Regions from separate parts of the Homo sapiens genome. Here all the other regions are linked to region 2. The links are contacts of gene promoters, found by promoter capture Hi-C in blood cells and fetal thymus (Javierre and others, 2016). All regions are on one chromosome and are shown on one strand. Each heading gives the region's core, a stretch centred on a gene start or on the middle of the fragment in contact. The rest is flanking DNA. Distances are from core to core; before and after follow the strand shown.

The links. The method cuts DNA at HindIII sites, captures the fragments that hold promoters and counts their contacts. A CHiCAGO score of 5 or more calls a contact.
Region 1: a fragment that was not itself captured here is called in contact with the fragment with the promoter of CYP2R1 in region 2 in 1 of 17 cell types (M0 macrophages); the score reaches 5.2 in M0 macrophages.
Region 3: the fragment with the promoter of BMAL1 here is called in contact with the fragment with the promoter of CYP2R1 in region 2 in 1 of 17 cell types (monocytes); the score reaches 6.7 in monocytes.

The regions. Positions count from the first base shown.
Region 1 is chr11:13,670,523-13,673,222 of GRCh38, reverse strand. All of the region lies in intron 1 of FAR1 (fatty acyl-CoA reductase 1), which reads right to left. Among named protein-coding and RNA genes, the nearest start is that of FAR1, 3.2 kb to the right of the region's middle. The HindIII fragment of the contact is 2,365 bases long and covers 82-2,446 here.
Region 2 is chr11:14,890,939-14,893,638 of GRCh38, reverse strand. CYP2R1 (cytochrome P450 family 2 subfamily R member 1) reads left to right here and starts at 1,408. Exons shown (of 5, transcript NM_024514.5): 1 at 1,408-1,658. The coding sequence starts at 1,434. It also overlaps a transcript of PDE3B not described here. RefSeq lists a silencer at 1,661-1,900. The HindIII fragment of the contact is 6,013 bases long and covers 1-1,444 here.
Region 3 is chr11:13,276,540-13,279,239 of GRCh38, reverse strand. BMAL1 (basic helix-loop-helix ARNT like 1) reads right to left here and starts at 1,450. Exons shown (of 20, transcript NM_001297719.2): 1 at 1,317-1,450. RefSeq lists silencers at 440-779, 1,060-1,129, 1,200-1,849. The HindIII fragment of the contact is 3,232 bases long and covers 1-2,700 here.

The DNA.
Region 1 (2,700 bases), core at 15-2,514, 1.2 Mb after region 2:
TTTAGGAGACTGTAATAAGTCTGTACTGATCCTAGGGCAAATCCTATTGGTTTGGGAATCATTCTTTGAATAAGAAAAGCTTATTTTCTTGACTTCTGTCTCCACTCTTCAAATTGGGAACCGAAAACAATGGTGAATTTATAAGTGTTTAAGTTGATCAGCTATATCTAAATCCAGCACTTCCATTTTGTCTTACTGAACTGAAACTCTAAGCCTGTTGCAAACCCATTAATGAGAGGAACTATAGAACCAATGTGTAGGAAGAAGGATATAAAGCCAAAAGAAGCAGTTAAAATGACACAATTCTATCAGTGGTTTGTTGGGTTTTTTTAAACCTTAAATTCATGTATTAAACTCTAAGAAAACAAGTGTTCAGGAAAACAAAGACTGTATCTCCACCATTCAGGGTGGGTTAGTAACTTGATCCTTCAGGTTAAGCAAATACCACCTTTCAGTACATACAGTTTCAGTTTCCATCAGTGACAATCCAGTCATTTCCAAGATAGGAACACACCTACCAAGGTGGCTCTTACCAAGTAGGGACTGAAATAAGACTATCTTCTCTCCTACCCCAAGTTCAGACTAGCCTACCCACATTTTCCTGAGTATTAGCTCATTTCAGTTGAATGCTTGTCCCCACTAATTATAAAAATAATGCTCACTTTTTTTTTTTTTTTTGAGACAGGGTCTCACTTTGTCACTTAGGCTGGAGTACAGCGGCATGATCAAGGTTCACTGCAGCCTCAACCTCCCAGGCTCCCATCTCAGCCCCCCAAGTAGCTGGGATTACAGGTGTGCACACCACCTTGCCCAACTAATTTTTTTTTTTTTTTTGGATAGAAAAGGGGTTTTGCCATGTTGCCCAGGCTGCTCTTGAACTCTTGAGCTCAGGCGGTCTGCCTGCTCATTTTTTTAAATTTGAAAAAACTAAAAAGTGCAAGCATTTTAAAGCATCCATGATCTTCCAGCCAAAGATTAAAACATTACAAGGGGTCATACCATCATCTTTCCTATGAATCTGACCATAACTGTGAAAATATTTAAATTTGTATAGAGTACCTGCCACTAAACACAATTAACTACCAGCCCAAACATTAATATCTTCATTCCAGCTTTCTTGTGACTAAATTCACATTACTTTTTTACTTACTTAACTCAATGGTTTCTTCTCAATCGTTCTGAGTCTCTCAGCTATATACTTTGTTGCTAACCACCACCTCTTTAAAACTCTATCCCAGGTTTCTCTAAACAGTGTATTCCTCAGTATCTACAGAAATCTCTCCAACTAATCTTTTTCTTTCTTCACTGGCTCTTCTTACATAAACTGACAATCTCTAGAAAATAGATGAGGTCTGACTTGAATTTTCTTGTCAATATTGAACACCCAGCACTTACTACAGTGCCTGGCATCAAGCAGATGCTCAATTAACATTTACTGACTGATTCTGCCAATCCTGACCTGTCCCCTCCTAGCTGTGTGACCTTGGGCAAGTTATATCTCTCTGAGTCTTATCTCCCTCATCTATAAAATACAGATAATCAGAAGATGAGATAATATTTGGAAGGTTCAAAACAGTGTCTGCCACAAAGTAGCACCCAATAAATTTTGCTATTATTATCAATATACTCTAGCACAGGACTCAAAAATGTTTCCAACTTATGATATATGGTTGACTGTTAAACCTACCTCTCAATAACCTTACTTTCACTTCATTCTCCTATAACTATCAAATATTTTATGCTCTTTCCTTTACTACCTATCTCCAATCCATTATCAACTGTTAATTTTCTCTCCTAACCAACATAAAAAATTATTTATCAGCTAAGCTGCAACATAGCCTTGGTTGATTTCCAAACCCCTAAATCTTCATTCGAATCTTCAATCATCCTTAAAAACCATTTTTAATTTGTCACTCTTGTCCACAGTTGCTTATACCAAGTACAAACTACTGGAATGTCATCCTCATGTCTTGTAATAACCCACATCCCAACTTCTAGTTCACATGATGGCTCAAAACTCACCTCTTTCAGGAAACCTTCCCTGATTCACTCCACGCCACTCAGATTACTTCTCTACTGCAAGTCGCCTCAGCACTTAGGTATTGTTATACTAAGGGCAAATGTGATCACAGTAAACAGCATCACTAAGAAATCGCTTTCACAAAATTGTTTCTAGATCATAAATAATGGTCCATTAGTTAAAATGCTTTGCTGATCTGGTTAACAAGCAAACATGTTACACAGCAAATGCTCTCTTTGGCTTCTGTCCTTGACTCTATAACTCTTCACAAACCTTTTGTCCTATCCTCAAACAGAAACTCTATCTCCCATTTAAATACACTGGAAATATGGTAGTGGGCCACCTTCTTTTCTACTACCTCTTCTCTGACCTCAGTCTCTGCCTCCAGCCTCTATCCACACCCCATAAATAAAAATTCCAAAAGCTTCAAATAGAATAGCAGTGATGCATACATACCATGTCTTTCCTGAGTGAAAAAAAAAAAAAAACCCTCAAGCTACTTAGCTACAAAATTCTTCACAAGGGTAATAAATTTCCCAACAAGCCTAATACATAATCAAACTCCAGAAAATTTATGTGGAATTTTTATGGATAAATTTATGGAATAATTTTGGCCGGCGCGGCAGCTAACGCCTGTAATCCCAGCACTTTGGGAGGCCGAGGCGGATGGATCTCTTGAA
Region 2 (2,700 bases), core at 159-2,658:
GAGGAAGGAATGGGGACGAAAGCCAAGGAATGTGGGCAGCCTCTAGAAGCTGAAAAAGACAAGGAAATAGAATCTCTCCTACAGTCTCTAGAAAGAATGAAGCCCCACTAACACCTCTCTGTCAGCCCTGGAAGACTCATTTTGGACTTCTCACCTCAAGAATTGTAAGAAAATAAATTTGTGTGGTTTTAAGCCATCAGATTGGTGGTAATTTATTACAACAGTAGTAGGAAACAAATACACTTCTTTAGCAGTTGATCTCAGCTCCAATGTCATCTTCCTAATAAGACTTTCCTTGACAGCCCTTGCCTGCTAAAGTATCTCCCCAACCACCAGGCGTTTTCTATAACGCACTTTTTGTTTGCTTCTGATTATTGAAAATTATTGTATTTCCATGTCATTGCTCTTCCCTCTCATAAGAATGTAAGTTATAGAAAGGACTTTGTTGCTCTTATTCACCTATGTATCTCCATTGCTTAGGACATGGGAACATAGTAGACATTCAATAAATATTTGTTGTGTGAATGAGTCGTAAGCTAATGAGGACCATAAAACTCATGCCACTGCTAAATCACAATTAGAGGGCAGCTGTTAGAAGAGTCCCAAACCCAGTAAGTCCTGTATTGCAAGGAACTGCCCAATAGAAAACAGGAATAAAAACAATTAGCAAGAATAATATGAAATCAGTTGCTTAATTCCAGGCAGTGGAGGCAGAAATCTTGAATAGTAAATACTCTCCGTGAACAAGTGCAGACAAGAGTCCCGTGATTGCCAATAAGTAATCAGTTTGGAAAGACCAGAGAGGGGTCAAATATAGGTAAACTGAGTTAATCACATAAACTGCTCAATCATCACAATTATTAAAAGATCACACACAAAAATACATTAACAGGAGAAAAATAGTAAAACAGGACAAAACAGTAAAATTACTTTCTTTTACTACTGATGGGTCAATTTTCTACTGGAAATTCTGAAAAGTATCAGGTTCAGCTAAAGACTGCAGTGTTGATCATCTCTCCAGTTTTCCTAGTGTGAAATGAAATAAGCAGACCTGGTACTTAAAAAGACACTTTAAGAAAGGTCTGGCCCCAGAGAGGCAGGATCCGCCTAGCCCAGTGAGTGAGGCCGTCCTGACACCTCGTCAATGCCCTTGTGTCAACATTCTAGAAAACGGACTCCTGGCTCATTGCTCCGCCTAGAGCCGCGCCACCTCCAAAGGGTAGCACCGGCCACCCGCTCCGCAAAGTCCACTCTCAGCCGCGCAAAACTAGAAGGTAGTTGTCCCGAAGGGGCCTGAGCGCTCACTCAGTCAGCCAATGGCCACGGAGCTAGGGCGGGACCTGAGGGTATCCTGCCAATGGGAGTATGGCAGGGCTGGAGGGAGTGCCTGGGTCTCAGGGCTGCTGTGGAGTTCGCACCTCCAGCTCGGGCCGATGTGGAAGCTTTGGAGAGCTGAAGAGGGCGCGGCGGCGCTCGGCGGCGCGCTCTTCCTGCTGCTCTTCGCGCTAGGGGTCCGCCAGCTGCTGAAGCAGAGGCGGCCGATGGGCTTCCCCCCGGGGCCGCCGGGGCTGCCATTTATCGGCAACATCTATTCCCTGGCAGCCTCATCCGAGCTTCCCCATGTCTACATGAGAAAGCAGAGCCAGGTGTACGGAGAGGTACAGCCCCGACGGGCCCCGGGCAGGGAGGGCCGCCAGGCTGGCCCGGGCTGGCCAGGGCCTTCCTGGTTGGACTTATGGCCGCCCCTGGGCCGACTAGTCGGGACCTCTCCGTGTGCCGGCTGCCCTTTGAGGGACACCCGCTTCCCGGGTCTGGAAGGGAGAAGTCCTCGACGCCGTGCCCCCTTGCAGGGGGAGCCCCGCCCCTGCCGGTGACCCACTCCGGGCCGAGGCTCCGAGGCGATCCAGTCCTGATTTTCCCGCTACCGCTCGAGCTCTTGCTCCTGCGCCTGCGCCGTTTGGCTCGCCAGCCGCGCCGCCACTTCAGGTCCAGGGTGGACGCATGCCCTCAGGTGCGGGCGTCTTGCGAGTCGGCCTCGCAGCTCTGTGGAAGCTGCACGCGGCTTGTCGGAAAATCAAGGCGTTCTGAGTTCTAGATGGTTAATAGCAGGTTCTTCGGTGTCTGCAGTCGACGAACGACTGGTGTAGGCGTTTGCTGTGAGAATGGAGAATGCAGGGGAACGCCCCTGACTGAGAAGCGGGCCCTGGGAAACGATTGTGAACGCGTGAATGAATTGATGACTAAAATCCGCTGCGGGGGTCCTACAGCGCAGATGGTAATGCCGTTCTGACTGGCTGGGAACGGCACCTTAGCAGATACTTAAAAGGCGCCTTCTGTGTGCCACTGTCACTGCCAACTTGGTGACTCATTTAAAACTCATAACCAGCCGGTGAGGTCGGTACTTCGCTCCTCCTCATTCTGCGGAGGGGAAAGCAGCACGGAAATGCCCTGTGACTGGCAGCGGAAAAGGCGACCACCGCTTGTGTGTGGGTGTCCCGACGTCCGGAGGGGGCAGGAGTTTCCACGGGTCCTGGGACAGAGCTCACCTGTTTTGTTTTGAATTACACTTATTTATATGCAACTACAGGCCTGACGCTAGCGGTGAAGAAGGCAGATACAGCCTTTTAAGGAGTTGGCAGATGAGTGGGAGAGAGAAAACTAATCTCATTATCGGCCACAGGCTGTGGTCAGTGTTTTGAA
Region 3 (2,700 bases), core at 201-2,700, 1.6 Mb after region 2:
ACGGAATCTGATTTTTGGAAGCTGGGTGAGAAAACTTGGCTAATAATTCCTCGCTGAGGAGTAGCGGTGGAAGAAGGAAGAGACCGCAAGCGCCAAAGCGCCAAAACAACGCTAGGTGACCGGGAAGGGGCCGAGGCGGAGAGGGGAGAGGGGTCAGGAGGTGCGGGGTGCGCGGCGGCAGCGGGTCTCTCACCGGCCGGCGAGAACTTGACAGCAGGCGCCGGTGTCCAGCACTCCCCTTCCCTCCCCAGCTCCTGCCGGCGGGCACCTGAGCTCACCCCGCTGCCGGCTCTCGCGACCCCTCGGGGAGGCTAACATGCGCCCCACAAGGTCGACGTTCACCTCTACCTTCCTCGTCTTCTTCCAAGCAAACGGGAAGCTCTCTGGGATGTCAACGCCCGGCAATAGCCGAGCGGGAACCTTTTCTTCCCTGACATCTGTCAAACCCGGAGCTGGAGCCAGGCTCGCTGCGCCCTCCGCGGAGCTCTGGGACTCCAAGGCCGGCCCGCACCCGGGCTCCGGGCGACATCCCCAGGCCGACGCGCACCTGCCCGCAGACCCACGGGGCATCCTTGAGGGCCGCCCAGGACCTGGACGGCACAGGCCCCACGAAAGTTCGCAGGCTGGGGTCGGCCCCGTGCCGGCCGGGGATTCCCGGGTGCAGCGCCAGCCCTGGCTACAGGGCCGAAGGGGCGGGCGGACTTGGACTCCCCAAGCCCGACGGAGACGCCCTCCCCGCCCCCACCCAGCCTCGCGGGCTCCCGAAAGGGAAGTGAAGCGGGGAGGAAGGGCAGACGCGGCACCGTTCGCCCAACGCCCTTGAGGGGCAGCCACCAGGCATGGTCCCCTCGGGGATCCCCGAAGCTCCCGGGGACACATCTAGGAGTCCTCTTCGGCCGAGTCACTGCCCCCAAGGGCAGAGCTATCCCTTTAAGAGGCAGCTAGCTGCCCCCTCCCCCCGCCAGGTAGCGATGCCCGCGGAAGGGCGGTGGGTACTCCAGCGAACACTTTCCCGGCCCCTTTAAGGGCTCCTGCAGCACCTCTGCCTGCCCTAGCCCGCAGCGGCAGCCCCCGCGAGGAGGATGGGGGCGGACGGGCGCGGCGCCTTTAAGGGGCGCAGCCTCCCCACGGCCCGGGTGGGGGCAGGGAGCGGTCACGGGCCCTTTAAGGCCGGCAGCGGGCACGTCGGGCAGGGTTCTTCGGCGGCCGGGTTGCCCCCGGGGCGGCGGCAGGGGCGCAGCGCCCGCGAGGGTGCTAACGGCCCCCGACGGGGTGCGCGGGATCGCGTCGCTGGCCGCCGCCGGCCTGACACTCACCGTGGCTCGCCGGGAGCGCCCGCGCCCGCGCCCGCACTCGGATCCCGCGGCGGCGGCGGCGGTGAGTCCGGCGCGGGTAAACAGGCACCTCCGTCCCTGACCTACTTTCTGCCTTCCCTAAATGTCGCACCACTAACCTACTTTCCGACCAATCCGCTCCCCGCCGGCCCAGGCCCGGCCCCCCGCCCACCAATCGCTGTGCCCAACCCCCCTTCCCCGCCCACCAATGGAGGAGCCGCAGCGCCCGGATACCTGCCTCTTCCCGCCAGCCAATCCGAACGCCCGAAGGGAGCCGGTCCCGGCGGCCGCCCCCAGCCAATCCGCGCGCGGCTCGGCAGCCCGCTGGCCAGTTGTGTGGCGGCTAGAGAGGCCGCTGACCAATGGCGAGGCGGCGGGAGCCGGTTTACCTGCTACTTTCCTGCCACCAATCATTTGGCGCACAGGAGCGCACGCCCCGAGGAGAGGACCAATCCGCGCGCGCTCCCTGGGTTCCTCGCCCCTGCCCTCTCCCTTTCCCCTCAGGTCTCCCACTAGCCGCGGCCACTGCGGTGCCCAAGCCGCGCTCCTCGGGGTCGCCCGGGATGTCCCTCTTCTCTGGGTCCCCTGCCGGCTGGCGTTTGGCCGCCCGCCCTCACCCCTCCTCCTTCTTCTTCTCCCCTCCGGGCATTCCGACGAAAAGCAGCAGTTCCTGACTCCCTCTCTCCCTCCGGCTCCATCTAGGAAACCAATTTTAGGAACGTTGAGTGCCAGACCCTTCCTAAAATCCCTGGTTTGCCAAAGTCTCAACGAGAGAACGGATACTTAGTATTTCTAGAAGGCATTTCCACCCCGAGGACTGCAAGTGTTCTCACGTTCTTTGCGTTCATCATGACCTCCAAGTGTCCCACTGGAGCTGTCATTCCCGTAGTTCCAAAGAGAATACTCGAGCGCGGAGCGATTCCATTGCATTTCCTTCCAGTAGCCAGGTTTTGACCACTTACTGAAGAGTAGACACCAGCCCCGCGGCAGCGCTCTCTGCTGCAAAAAGCTGTCTACGGAGCAAGACGGAAGGAAACAGTTACAGAAAATAAAAATTTGATAACGACATGCGACTCGGTTGCTGAGAGGACAGAGAAAGTGACTTATTTTTGCATCTCAGGCACTTTGTAGAGGGCCTTTAGCACAAAGAACTCCCGGCTCTTCCAGATGTTAAACTCCCTGAATAGAAGGACAGCGTCTTCTTTTTCGTTATCCATCATGTCAGCTCTCCTTTAGCGCCTGCTGGGGTAGGGTGGAGTGGTGGGGGCGGGGCTGGCACCCAACAAGTGCACCATAAATATCTGTTGGCTGGATACATGAACAAATGGAATTAAATAAATTGGCCTAATTCTGTTACCCAGACTGG